Linked DNA regions of Homo sapiens: regions 1, 2, 3 and 5 are each linked to region 4. Evidence: promoter capture Hi-C in human tissues and cell types (Jung and others, 2019). All regions are on one chromosome and are shown on one strand. Each heading gives the region's core, a stretch centred on a gene start or on the middle of the fragment in contact. The rest is flanking DNA. Distances are from core to core; before and after follow the strand shown. Region 1 has its middle 16 kb from the start of SDK2. Region 2 overlaps SLC39A11 (solute carrier family 39 member 11). Region 3 overlaps SDK2 (sidekick cell adhesion molecule 2). Region 4 holds the start of CPSF4L (cleavage and polyadenylation specific factor 4 like). Region 5 overlaps SLC39A11 (solute carrier family 39 member 11).

Region 1 (2,700 bases), core at 148-2,647, 400 kb after region 4:
TCCCCTCTGTCCATGTCTCTCTGACCCATTAGACTGGCCAAAGCAAATGAGAGAGAACCGGCCAGGTGGCGAGGCAATGGGACCTTTCATATGCTGCTGATGGTGGGAGTGACAATTGACATAATCGTTTTAGAGAGCAATTTGGCAATATCTAGTTAAGGCGAAAATGCTCAACCCGGTGATCTAGGAATTATACCTCTGTCATAAATCCTTATCACCAAAGGTAAATTACGTATTTATTTTTCTGCTCAACGGAAAGCATAAAATATATAATATTCTTTTATGATTTCAAGTTTCTAATGCAGTTTTACATATATTACCTAATTTGACGTTCACAAGCATAGTAGCAGTGTCAGCCCCTTGTTATAAACATGGGAACTGAGGCCAAAGATAAGGCCACAGAACTGTAGTTTGGTGCTGGGCTCAAATCCCAGTCATTTGACTTTTTGTCCAGGGCATTTTCCATGACCGCAGGCTGCCTTGCTGTGTTTTCCTGCTGCAAAGAACATCAACAAGCTCTGGGCACTTTGGCGTAGATGCTGCTAGGACCCCAACCAGATACATGGGCCTTTGCGGGAGCTTGTGCCCATCCCCCAGGGGCTGCAAGTGTTGGTGGCTGAAAGGTCACAGCTGCCCTTCCTCAGAGAATTGCCCATGGCCACTAGAGTGGCCTCAGCTGGAGATGTCTGGAAACTTCCCTTAGCCCCGCATGGCAGGGGTTGCTTTAGCCAATGGCTGACTGATGCAGGTGTACAAGGCTGGCCTTATTGTCTCAAGCGGGGACAGCTTTGTGGTACCATTCATGCTCCAGAGCTCACTGTGGGCTGTGGGAGGACATCAGCAGAGCCCGCATCTTTGCCTCGCTGCTTTTCCTGACTTATTCTGTGTTCCTCATGTCCTCTCGTCTTCCTCCTGGGAGGATTCCTTTAAGAACTCTCCTGCACCAGAATTCTCATCTCAGGCTCCGCTTTGAGGGTGATGGTTCTTTATCTTTCTCATGTATGAGAATCACCGTCCAGGTGTGGTGGCTCACACCTGTAATCCCAGCACTTTGGGAGGCTGAGGTGGGAGAATTGCTTGAGCCCAGGAGTTTGAGACAAGCCTGGGCAACATAGGGAGAACTTGTTCCCACAAAAAATGAAACAAAGAAATTTTCCAGGCATGGTGCATGTGTCTTTAGTCCCCGCTACTTGGCGGGTTAAGGCGGGAGAATCACTTGAGACTGGGATGTAAAGGCTGCAGCGACCCATACTTGGGCAACTGCACTCCAGTCTGGACAACAGAGCAAGACCCTGTCTCAAAAAAGAAAGAAAAGAAACACCAATAGGGTTTGTTAAAGCACACATCGCTGGGCTTCCCCTCCACTGCCTGTTTCAGTGGGTCTAGGAAAGGGTCCATAATTTGCATTTCTAGCAAGTTGATGCTGATGATGCTGGTCCAGGGACCACACTTTGAGAACCACTCTTCTAAGGACCCTGACATAAGACAGTTGGTGCCAGGAGAAGCAAATGCTAAGAACGGGAGTCTGCAGTTGGATAACCCGCTGGCAATGAGAAACTCAACACTGGTGATAGAAGGAGAAATGATAGCTCCTGGCATTTGGTAGCGATACAATTTCTGTGACAGCTTACAGTTGGAAGGGGATGTACTGGCTTTTGCAATATTTCTGGCATTGGAGCATTATAGCAGAGACAGTAATTATAAGGATTATGGAATTGAGAGGCTGTTTCTGAGAGACACTAGTGCAGCAAAGAAAGAAATGGCGGGCCCAAGTTTATTAATCACCAATTCAGAGCAAAGTGTGAAAGTCAGAGGATCTCTTTGGCAGTGAGGTCCTTATCTCCTGGAGCTGTACGATGGTGCCAAAGTGATACTCATTCAGTAGAAACCATGCTTTCAGTGCCCATGCAACCATTCTGTTTTTCATGTTCAGTGCAGTATTCAATACATTACATGAGATATTACATACTTTATTATAAAATAGGCTTCGTGTTAGATGATTTTGTCTAACTGTAGGCTAATGTCAGTGTTCTGAGCACATTTGAAGTAGGCTAGGGGTGTTTGGTAGATTAGGTGCAATAAATGCATTTCCTACTTACGATATTTTCAACCTAAGATTGAAGCTTACCTAAGATTTATCAAGATGTAGCCCCATCATAAGGTGAGGAGCATCTGTATATTTAAAAGTAATTTGGGCCGGGCACAGTGGCTCATGCCTGTAATCCCAGCACTTTGGAAGGCTGAGGCGGGCAGATCATGAGGTCAGGAGATCGAGACCATCCTGGCTAACATGGTGAAACCTCATTTCTACTAAAAATACAAAAATTAGCCTGGTGTGGTGGCATGCGCCTGTAGTTGCAGCTACTTGGGAGGCTGAGGTGGGAGAATCGCTTGAACCCGGGAAGTGGAGGTTGAGCCCAGTCTCCTGCTTCAGCACGTGGAAGTCTCATACCCTCCTCGCCAGAGCAGACTATAAGCCAAGCACAGAAAGACAAGCACTGTATGATTTCATGGATATGTGGGATCTAAAAAAATTGATCTCATACTAACAGAGAGTAGACAAGTGGTTACTGCGCACTAGGGCTGGGGTTGGGTAGGGAAGAACGCAGAGAAGGGAGAGGTTGATCAAAGGGTACGATGTTTCATTTACACTAGAGACATAAGTTTTAGTGATCAATTCCACTGCATGGAAACCACAGC
Region 2 (2,700 bases), core at 49-2,548, 510 kb before region 4:
TTAGGTTCTTTCCTTCCTTCCTCCCTTTCTTATTACCATTTTTAATTGTGATAAAATGTGAATGAATAACATGTAATTGAGCATCTTCCTCATTTTTAAGTGTACATTCATTGGCATTAAGTGCAATCACTTTTGTACAGCCATCGCCACCACCCATCTCCAGAGCTCTTTGGTTTTTTTTTGAGACAGAGTCTTGCTCCGTCGCCCAGGCTGGAGTGCAATGGCATGATCTCAGCTCACTGCAATCTTCGCCTCCTGGATTCAAGTGATTCTTGTACCTCAGTGATCCCAGTAGCTGGGAGTACAGCCATGCATCACTATGCCCGGCTAATTTTGTAATTTTGGTAGAGACAGGGTTTTGTTATGTCAGCCAGGCTGGTCTCGAACCCCTGGCCTCGAGTGATCTGCCTGCCTTGGCTTCCCAGAGTGCTGGGATTACAGGTATGAGCCACTGCACCCGGCTCCAGAGCTCTTTTTATCTTGCATAATTGAAACTCTCCACCCACTGAACCCAGATCCCCATTCCTCCTCCTCCCTCCCACAGCCCCTGGCAACCATCCTTCTACTTCCTGCCTCTGTGCCACTGACTCCTCAGGTGTCTCGCAGAGCAGGACTCACACAGTATCTGTGATGCCCTCTTTCTTATGTCATATTATCCCCTTGTGTCCCTTCTTCATTTTGTCAGGGGGCCTCCTTAACCTCCTACGGGATGTGTGGGTGATAAACTTCTGAACCCTGACATAGAAAAGAAAAATTTTGATTTTTCTCTGTGACTTAATAGCTTGACTTGAAAGTGCTGCATCCCAAGTTACCTCTCCTTAATATCTTTTTTTCTGTTTTTTCTTTCTTAAGATGGAGTCTCGCTCTGTCACCCGGGCTGGAGAGCAGTGGCGTGATCTTGGCTTACTGCAGCCTCCGCCTCCCGGGTTCCAGCAATTCTCCTGCCTCAGCCTCCCAGGTAGCTGGGATTACAGGCACGCACCACCACGCCCAGCTAACTTTAGTATTTTTAGTAGAGATGGGGTTTCACCATGTTGGCCAGGCTGGTCTCGAACTCCTGACCTCAGGTGATCTGCCTGCCTCAGCCTCCCAAAAGTGTTAGGATTACAGGTGTGAGCCACCACGCCCGGGCCTTAGTATCTTTTTTCTTTTTATTTATTTTTAAGACAGGGTCTCACTGTATTGCCTCAGCTGGTCGCTAACTCCTGGGCTCAAGTAATCCTCCTGCCTTGGCCTCCCAAAGTGCTGGGATTACAGGCATGAGCCATGGTGCCTGGCCTGCTCAATGTCTTGAGGGTATTGTTCCATCATCTTCCAGTATCTGATGCTGCTGCTGAAAAGTCTGATGCTAATTCCATTCTCATTTCCTTGTATTTAAGAAGACTTTTCTCTCTGGAAGCTCTCAACAATTTCATCTTTGTTTCTGGAGTTTTTGTTGGTGGTGGTGTTGTTTTGATTTTTGAGATAGGTCTCACTCTGTGGCCCGGGCTGGAGTGCAATGGTGCCATCATGGCTCACTGCAGCCTTGACCTCCTGGGCCCAACCAATCTTCCCACCTCAGCCTCTTGAGTAGCTGGGACCACAGATGCATGCCACCATGCCCAGCTAATTTATTTTTAGTTTTTGTAGAGACCATGTCTTCATATGTTGGCCAGGCTGGTCTCGAACTCCTGGACTCAAGTGACCCTCCAACCTCGGTCTCCCAAAGTGCTGGGATTACAGGCATGAGCCACTGCTTGTTTTCAGAGTTTTGAGATTCATCAAGATATGTCTGAGTGGGGTATTTTCTCCATTCCCACTATTCAGCATTAGGTGGTCTTTTAAATCTACAAGGTTGTGCTTTTTTTCAGCTCAGGAAAAATTTCCCCACATGCCTGCACACATACCTTACATCTTTGACTTTGTGTTTGGGAACTGGAGAATTGTCTTCTACTTAACCTTCCAGATAACCTGCTTGGCCTTTCATTCAGAATATTCTAATGAATCTATCCATTTAACTTTCTAAAAGAATTCTGGCAATTATACGATATGATTAATTTTCAAGAACTCTTTCTTATTCTCTGATTATTCATTTTTATCACAGTCAGTTCTTGCTTTATGAGCATGATAAATATGCTCTTGAATCTCCAGCTGAACATACTGCTTTGAATTTTTATGTTCTTCTGTCTCCTGGGCTCCCTGTTTTCTCCAGAGTAGGTTGTCCTACTTACTTCAGTCCCTTTTTTTCATTCTTTGGGTTTTTCTCAGGTGTCTGGGGATCTGTTACCTTCAGAGCACATTCAGGGAGGCGGGTTGACATTGACGATAGTTGGAAAGGGCATTCTCCAGGGTTGTACAAGTCTGTTTCCCTAACAGGCCTCCCTGACAACTCTGAAATTTCACTTCAAAGTATTTCCTTAAAGAACTATAAGTAGAACTACCACTGGATCCAGCAATCCCACTACTGGATATCTACCCATAGGAAAAGTCATTATACAAAAAAAAAAAAAAAAAAAAAAACCTGCACACACGTTCATAGCAGCACAATTCACAACTGCAAAAATGTGGAAACAGCCCAAATGCCCATCAATCAACAAGTGGATAAAGAAACTGTGATATGTATATATGTATATATATATATATATATATATATACACATACACACACACACACACACACACACACACACACACACACACACACAGTGGAATACTACTCAGC
Region 3 (2,853 bases), core at 210-2,709, 360 kb after region 4:
ACAACCACATGTGCATTCACACATACATATATGTACACACAGTCACATACATATATACACAAATACACATGCATGTGACACACATGCCTACACATGCACATGAACACACAACCCAAATACACGTACACACGCATGCATGTAGACACATATGCATATACACATGAACACACATACACACACGTACACACACATACATACTTCTTCCCTCTGCATCTGAGCTTGACAGTGTGCATGAAGTAGACATATGATCCAGTTTGTGGAATCGGTACCTCCTCTTCCCCAGAACATCAGGAAGCGACCAGAAAGGCAAGCCACTTGCATGCTACCTTGCAAACTGACCTCAGGGCACTGTGAACCTTGTGCTCGGCAGCCCCAGGCATCCCGGTGCTGCTTGCCTTCCCCACCCTCTCCCCGCCTGTCTGAGCTAGACAAATTTCCACCCCCGGCTCCCCACCTCAACAGTCTCCCCAGCCCCAGCTCAGCATCCCACACACACATGCAGGCTCAGGAAGGAGAAAAAAACAAGAGGGAAAGAGGCAAGCAACGGTGATTTCCTTTCACTTGGGCAGGCTGACCGTGGCCTCAAGGACCACTGTCGCAATGCTTAGGCCTGAGCACGCATTTGTCTTTGTTTGGTTTGTTGCTTTGGTTTGTTTCGTTCTCCTGGCTGAATTACCACGTGGCAGCAGATCCTTTTTCTGGAGTAATGGAATCTTAGTCCTGGGTGTTTGGGGCTGAGAAAATGAACGTTCCATGATGCTATAAACGAAGGAAGATAAGAAACTAACTAGTCCAGCTAGTTTTTGCAGAATGCTGTGAGAGTTACAGGATAGGAAGCCACTTTCCTCCTGGGCCCAGCCCTTAGAGAGGTGCCTGAGAGGTGAGGGAGGTGCTCTCAGAGCTGCAGGCACTGCACTGTGCGCATTCCCACCATGAGATGCCTGGGGAAGGGGTCAGATTCCAGGGCTCAGGGACACAGAAGCCCCTTCTGAAGTGGGGATAGCTGAGAATGCAGAGGGGAGACAAAGTGGGCGGAGAGACAGCTCTCCTAGGGAGAGCGGAGGTCTAGAAAAGGTGCTGGGATGAGAGGGCGGGTTTTCACAGGCCCATGCATGGCACATGGGAGGCCCACGACACATGTTTATTGAATGAATGAAGGAATGGAAGGCCATAGCTGTGAGCATGCTTGTGGGCAGGGGTGGTTGAGAGAGCTGACCTCGCACTGAGCAAAGAAGGTGAAGGGCTGTAGAGGGGAAGGGAGAGGCCTCTGGGGAGGGGAGAAGCTTCCCGCAGAGAGGAGGGGAGAGGGCTCCAGGGGAGGGGAGGGGCCTCCTGCAGAGAGGAGGGGAGAGGGCTCCCGCAGAGGGGAGGGGAGAGGCCTCCTGCAGAGGGGAGGTGAGAGGGCTCCAGGGGAGGGGAGAGGCCTCCTGCAGAGGGGAGGGGAGAGGCCTCCTGCGGAGGGGAGGGGAGAGGGCTTCAGGGGGTTCTTAGGAGGCAAAGAGTCAATGCTTCTCTTTCTAGGATGGTTTGAATGCAGTTTTGCTCTAAGGCAAGGAAATGAACCCAGAGACCCCCAGGGGCCCTTCTGGCTCCTGGCTCTGATTTTTAACTTCAGCCAAGGTGGGGAGGAGGGTGACAGGCAACAAGGCCCTTAGAGCTGTCCTCTGGCTGCAGAGATCTCTCCCTGTCCAGCATACCTAGTCGACAGGCTCCAGGGGAGCTTACGAAGGGGGCGTCCCAGCTATTTGCGTTCTCCTGAGTGATTTACCAACCCCCTGCCAATACAACTCCATCTCCTGGAGAATTAACTGGCTCTCCTGAACTCATAAATAATTAGTGAGTCTGTCCCTGATGCCACTTAACAATTTGTGTTTTCAAAGCACTTTATGCCCATTAACTAAAGAATTCCCAATTCACCTCCAGAAAAACAGGACATCATAAGAGGGAGCCTGAAAAGGCCTCTGGAAGTCATCTCATCCATCCCCCGGCCTCTGGGATATGGTAAAACTAAAACAAAACAAAATACCCAACAACCCTGTTTTGAGAACACATCGAGATCTAAACGCCTTAAAACAAAACAGAACAAAGAAAAACAAGATGTCAGGAGGGCAAGCTGCTGTCTGACGAGTTAACCACTAGACCGAACCCACCAGGCCAAGGAGCCAGGGAGGTCCCATGGAGTGTGATGGGCCAGGGAGAGAAGCCTGTTAAAGGGGAGAGAGGTGCTTAATTTAATACCAGGCAAATGCAAGAGACCTTGAACCAATAGATAGGTTTCCTTACCTGCAGGTAGGGAAATGGTAATTTGCTAACCCAAACCCATTCATTAGCCTGTAAATGACGCAGCTCTTATACCTAGGAGTGTCCCTCTTAATTAGACCCCATACCTTTGCCCAGCCTCATTTTATGTTTTGCTTCTGGCTTGGGGCAGAAATGGCCGTTCATGCCAACTGGCCTCTCCCCATGGAGAGGGAGAGCTCGCTGTGCCTGTGGATTCATTTATAGTCGTCAAAACAAGATTCTCCAGGGAGGCAGTGGTCGGCCAAGCCCAAGGGCTATGGAGCCACAAGGATTCAAGGAAGCATCACTCCTTTGCCCTTTTAGAATCATGACCTCTTAATTAATCAGCAAGGAACTATAAAAAACCTACTGTATGCCCAGGACAGTGTGAGAAATGAGAGAGGAAAAAGGAGTCTCCATTTCTGCCCCATGAACAGGAAGGGTGTTTCCCTTTGGAATCTAGAGTCCACGTGGTGCCCAAGAACGGCATGGGGGAGTCAGGGAAGCAGAGGCCAAGCAAGACTCTTCTACAGGGAAGGTACTTAGACAGGCAACTTCCTATTCCCCGATCAC
Region 4 (2,700 bases), core at 83-2,582:
CCTGAGGTGAGGAGTTTGAGACCCGCCTGGCCAACATGACAAAACTCCATCTCTACTAAAAATGCAAAAATTAGCCGGGCTTGGTGGCATGCACCTGTAGTTCCAGTTACTCGGGAGGCTGAGGAAGGAGAATCGCTTGAACCCAGGAGGCAGAGGTTGCAGTGAGTTGAGATCACGCCAGATCACTCTAGCCTGGGCAACAGAGCGAGATTCCATCTAAAAATAAATAAATAAAATAAAAATAAAATTCCGTTCCATCCCAATTTTCCCTCCCCAGGTGCAAATTCGACACCCTATCCCAGGCCAGGCAGAGCCCCTGCTGGGTGTAGCTCAGACAGACCCTACACTCACCCAGCTTGGGGCCCAGGCCTGTCTGCTAACTCACCTTTCTCACAGAGCCCTTTAGTGAAGAAGTTGCACACAGCTGAGGCCGACTCTGGAAGGAGAAGAGGGAACGGAGAAGGTAGCTTCCCCAGAGGCTGCAGCTGTTCCGGAAGCCTCCACCTCCATCGGCATGTCCCACCTAGACCTCCCCCAGGCTCTGGCCTATGGGATCCCAAATCTGGGCCCTGTAGAGGTTAACCTGCAGAGCCAGCCAGCAGACCTCAACCCTTAACCCCCCAACTCTGAAACAGAGGAGCTCGAGGGGCTCAAGCCTGGCCCAGGAGCTCGGGAGGCCAGTGTGGCTTCTCTCAATTCACCGTCTCTCTGTGCCTCTCTTTCTCAGTCTGGAAAATGGGTTGCCCCGAAGCCACAGAAGAGAGAGACAGAGAAGGGGCGGTCGCATCAGGGAGTTGAGCAGAGAGGCCTGTAGAGAAGGAAGGGGGAGGGAGGCTGGGCGTGGTGGCTCATGCCTGTAATCCCAGCACTTTGGGAGGCCAAGGCGGGCGGATCACGAGGTCAGGAGATTGAGACCATCCTGGCTAACATGGTGAAACCCGGTCTCTACTAAAAATACAAAAAATCAGCTGGGCGTGGTGGCGGGCGCCTGTAGTCCCAGCTCCTCGGGAGGCTGAGGCAGGAGAATGGCGTGAACCCAGGAGGCAGAGCTTGCAATGAGCCGAGATTGTGCCACTACACTCCAGCCTGGGCTACAGAGCGAGACTCCGTCTCAAAGAAAAAAAAACAGAGAAGGTAGGGGAGGGAAAGTGGCCCCACCCTCACTCACTGTCCATGCCCTGGAAAGGCAGGAGCCCAGTGCCCTTCTGCATCTCGACATCCTTCTCGAAGGCAAAGGTGAACCGCTCTAGCCCCGCAATGACCTCTTGCATCTTCCGTCTCCTGCTGGGGCTGCGGAAGCTGCTGGAACCCAGGCAGGTGGGCCCAATATAGCTCATCAGAGGCCCTTAAGGGGCCAGCGCCCAATGCCTCCCCCTTCACCCCAGGGTGCCAGTGGCCAGGTGACTGCAGGGGACGCTCCAGCCTGGGCTGTACAGGAGCAGGGCCCAGCTGCCTCACCCGGCCCACCCAGTGCAGGGGCAGACACCCCAGGGCCCCTCACCCCCACACTGTGTACACAAGGCTCACTCGGATAGGGAGGGATTCGCAGAGCCCCACAAACTGCTTATCTTTGCATGTTACCGAACACAAACGTGGCGTGCACACAGACATTACCAAACCTGGGCTCATACTTTGTCCATGAAGACACAGCCACAGGTTAGCAAAGAGTTGCACAAACCAACCGCAGCAAGGCTGTTATTCTGCCAGAGCTGGGGGTGGTGGGGGTTTGCAGAGGGAGGGAGCCGTCCCACCTCCCCGCTTCTTCCCATGAGGGAAGGGGTCTCCCTCTGGGGCCCCTGACACCCCTTTTCTGGCCTGAGTGACAAGCCCCGAGTGAGCTCTTCGTGGGAGACAGGGAAAAAGGAATGAAGAGGAGAGGAACTGAAACAGTTGGATGAATGGCGCTTTGTTTACCTCGCACACAATCGCCAGCTTGGCGGGAGGGCGGAACCGACCAAGGCCAGGGCGGCCTCCCAGCCAGGATTCCACAGGGCCACCCAGTGCCACCCCACCCCTGAGAAAGTGCTTTATAAATGAAATCTCTATGCAAATGTTGTTTTATTATTATTACACCACCCCTGCCTGCAGGGCTGGGGACATCTGACAATGCTTTCAAAGGAGCATGTTAGGGCTCTAATTAGACCAGGTTCCCCCTCCCCCTGCTCTGGCCCCAAACTGGCCTTGCCTCTAACTAGAGCTGCTGTTCTCAGTCACATTGGCTTTTAATGCCCATAGAACCAGAACCCATACGCCCTCCTTTCTGGGTGCCCAAACCCAGCAGGGAGAGGTGGGCAGCCCCGCAGGCTCTCAGCTGGGCCAACATGAACTAGCCTGCTGGCTGTTGTTCCCCGTGGCTGTTGCTCCTAGATCTGTTCTTTTGAACTCCAGATCAGAAAAGAAAATAGCTGGAGAGATAGACACCTGGAGCCGAGGTGGGACTGGGAGGAGCAGGGACGAGATCCAAGAGTTTCCAGAAGCTCAGGCCTCTGACTGCATCCTGGGAGAGGCAGAGGGACCCAGCTCCAGGGCTAGAGGGTGGGGCCAAGGGGGTCCCTGGGGTAGAAACCCTGGCTTCTCTTGGCCTTAGTTGTATGCGTTGATTAGTAGTCCCAAGAATGCATTCATCTGTCAACACAGGCTCATTAAAGGCTCACAGAAGCCTGGCAGCGCAGGCAGGACTGATGAGGGAATCAAAGCCCA
Region 5 (2,700 bases), core at 98-2,597, 290 kb before region 4:
CATTGCAATACACATCACCGCCCCACCCTTCCATTTCATAGATGTGTTCTGTGGTCTCCCGATCCAATCGTAAACCTAATATTTACTCAGTGAAAGCAGTATTTGTGTGCGTTGCCATCTAAAATCCAATAAGTATGGAGACAGAAAAGAGGCTGTCTGCTTATGAGGCATGAGGGCAAACACAGCGAGCTCTTTAAAGAGCCATTGAGCTAATCAATATCCTCTCCCATTTCCATTCAGGGGCCCTGAGCCAACGGAGACTTAATAATTATTTTCCATCATTACAACCCTCCGAGAAGCTTACAAAGAAAAGGTCACTGTTTCTAAGTTTGTTCTTCTCTATTTGCCAAACACAGATTATTTCCTGGGGTCCATGAGGATCTCTTCCCAGACTGTAGCAACCAAAGACAGCCCTCACTAGGCCTCTTGGAGCCGGCTTTAGAAACAGGATATTGCTCTGCCCGTGGAAATCACTGTGGTCATCACATTTAGTTGTCTGGCCTCCTGTCCTGACCTTCCCTGCCAAGGTCAAGTTTTGGCCAACCCTCCTGTTGGATATTCTTTTTAATTTGTCCAGGTCTCAAAAATAAACACCAACCTCTGTGGTAGGTCAGGCAGGAAGGAAAAGGATGCTGTGGGTTGCTGGACACCATGACCAGCTCCTTCAACCGAGCTCCTGGACAGCGACCACACAGGCTTCAGCTGAGCCCTTTGTGCCCACATGCACACCACGAAGCCCACCATAAATACCCCAAGCTGCCTTCTGCTTGTCCTTTCCTTAGGAAACGTGAACAAACAATAACATAGAAAAATTATGGAAACCATCTTTTCCTTGCATAAAAGTTGGCTCAAACAACTAGTTAAGATTAGGTTTGATTAGAAGAAATAGAAAACCCTACTGCAGCGACTTACACAGGAAAGGTTTATTTGTCTGGGTCAGCAGAAGGACCAGGGTCAGCCATCCAGCGGGTACAGTGGCCCCAGCACTGCCGGGGGGGCACCAGGCTACTCTGTCACCTGAGTGATGGCTGTCGCACCCCAAGGACCACCCTGCTGTTTCCAGGAGAAGGAAGGGCAAGTAGAAGATGAGAAGGGACAACCTCCCTGATGACTTTTGCTGACCTCACATGGTTTCCCTGGGCTGCAGGGGAGGCTGTAGGTCTAGGAATTATAGGTAGGCACATTGCTAGATCAAACAGAATTGGAGTTCTGTTAGAAAGACAAAAGGATAAGTGGATTTTTTTCTTTTTTGAGACAGGGTCTCACTCTGTCACCCTGGCAGGAGTGCAGTGGCACAATCACAGCTCACTGCAGCCTCGACCTCTGGGGCTCAGATGATCCTCCCACTTCAGCTTCCCAAGTAGCTGGGATCACAGGCATGTGCCACCATGCCCAGCTAATTTTTTAAAATTTTTTGTAGAGATGGAGTTTCACCATGTTGCCTAAGCTGGTCTTGAACTCCTGGGCTCAAGCGATCCACGTACCTCGGACTCCCAAAGTGCTGAGATTAAGGCATGAACCACCGCACCTGGCCAGTAAGTGATTCAGTAGGTACCATGGTCTGAAAGTTTGTGTCCTCCCAAAATTAATACAGTGGATTCCTAAGCTCCGAGGTGACAGTCCAGTCTTGTGTGCATGATGACATGAAAGTCAACAGTGGGTGACATATAAGACAGTGATTCCACAGGATCATAACAGAGTGAAAGATTCCTATTGCCTAGTGACATCTGGATGATCCTGACCCTTTGTAGGCCTAGGCTAACATTCGTGCTTATTTTATTTTTTATTTTCTTGAGATGGAGTCTCACTCTGTCACCCAGGCTGGAGTGCAGTGGCGCGATCTGGCTCACCGCAACCTCTACCTCCCAGGTTCAACTGATTCTCATGCCTCAGCCTCCTGAGTACCTGGGATTACAGGCGCCCGCCACCACACTTGGCTAATTTTTGTAATTTTAGTAGAGACAAGGTTTTGCCACGTTGGCCAGGCTGGTCTCTAAGTCTTGACCTCAGGTGATCCACCCACCTTGGCCTCCCAAAGTGCTGGGATTACAGGTGTGAGCCACCACACCCGGCCTAATGTTTGCATTTGTATCTTCATTTTGTACCAAAAAAAAAAAAAAAAAATTAAGTAAAAAGGAATTTAAATTTTTTAATAGAAAAAAGCTTACAGAACAAAGATATCAAACAAGAAAATACCTTTGTACAGCTACAGCTTTACAGTGTGTTTTAAGCTAAGTGTTATTACAAAAGAGTCAAAACGTTTTTACAAGCTGATAAGGTAAAAATGTTACAGTAAGTTAAGGCCAATGTATTATTGTAGAAAAATATTTTGATTGCTTTAGTGTAGCTTAAGTATACAGTGTTTACAAAGTCTACGGTAGTGTATAGTAATGTCCTAGGCCTTCACATTCACTCACCACTCACTCACTGACTCACTGACTCACCCAGAGCAACTTCCAGCCCTGCAAGCTCCATTCATGATGAGTGCCCTAGACAGGTGTACTACCTCTTATCTTTTATACCATGTTTTTACTGCACCTCTTCTATGTTCAGATACACAAATACTTGTCATTGTGTTACAGTTGTCCACAGCATTCAACACAGTAACATACTATACAGGTTTGTAGCCTCGGAGCAATAGGCTACACCCTACAGCCTATGTGTGCAGTAGGCTATCCCATCTTTGTTTGGGTAAGTACA

The links. Contacts are between HindIII fragments. The study calls those that stand out against the background at their distance.
Region 1: a contact is called between a fragment that was not itself captured here and the fragment with the promoter of CPSF4L in region 4, in 1 of the 25 tissues and cell types used here (thymus).
Region 2: a contact is called between a fragment that was not itself captured here and the fragment with the promoter of CPSF4L in region 4, in 4 of the 25 tissues and cell types used here (dorsolateral prefrontal cortex, liver, lymphoblastoid cells and 1 more).
Region 3: a contact is called between a fragment that was not itself captured here and the fragment with the promoter of CPSF4L in region 4, in 2 of the 25 tissues and cell types used here (H1 embryonic stem cells and mesendoderm cells).
Region 5: a fragment that was not itself captured here is called in contact with the fragment with the promoter of CPSF4L in region 4 in 3 of the 25 tissues and cell types used here (dorsolateral prefrontal cortex, liver and pancreas).

The regions. Positions count from the first base shown.
Region 1 is chr17:73,658,883-73,661,582 of GRCh38, forward strand. No RefSeq gene overlaps it. Among named protein-coding and RNA genes, the nearest start is that of SDK2, 16 kb to the left of the region's middle. The HindIII fragment of the contact is 4,792 bases long and covers 1-2,700 here.
Region 2 is chr17:72,751,414-72,754,113 of GRCh38, forward strand. All of the region lies in intron 6 of SLC39A11 (solute carrier family 39 member 11), which reads right to left. Among named protein-coding and RNA genes, the nearest start is that of LINC00511, 110 kb to the left of the region's middle. The HindIII fragment of the contact is 4,804 bases long and covers 1-2,700 here.
Region 3 is chr17:73,615,871-73,618,723 of GRCh38, forward strand. All of the region lies in intron 1 of SDK2 (sidekick cell adhesion molecule 2), which reads right to left. Among named protein-coding and RNA genes, the nearest start is that of SDK2, 27 kb to the right of the region's middle. The HindIII fragment of the contact is 3,199 bases long and covers 1-2,853 here.
Region 4 is chr17:73,260,548-73,263,247 of GRCh38, forward strand. It overlaps CPSF4L (cleavage and polyadenylation specific factor 4 like), which reads right to left and starts at 1,333. Exons shown (of 6, transcript NM_001129885.1): 1 at 1,169-1,333; 2 at 386-436. The coding sequence starts at 1,271. The HindIII fragment of the contact is 16,084 bases long and covers 1-2,700 here.
Region 5 is chr17:72,972,326-72,975,025 of GRCh38, forward strand. All of the region lies in intron 4 of SLC39A11 (solute carrier family 39 member 11), which reads right to left. Among named protein-coding and RNA genes, the nearest start is that of SLC39A11, 120 kb to the right of the region's middle. The HindIII fragment of the contact is 5,164 bases long and covers 1-2,700 here.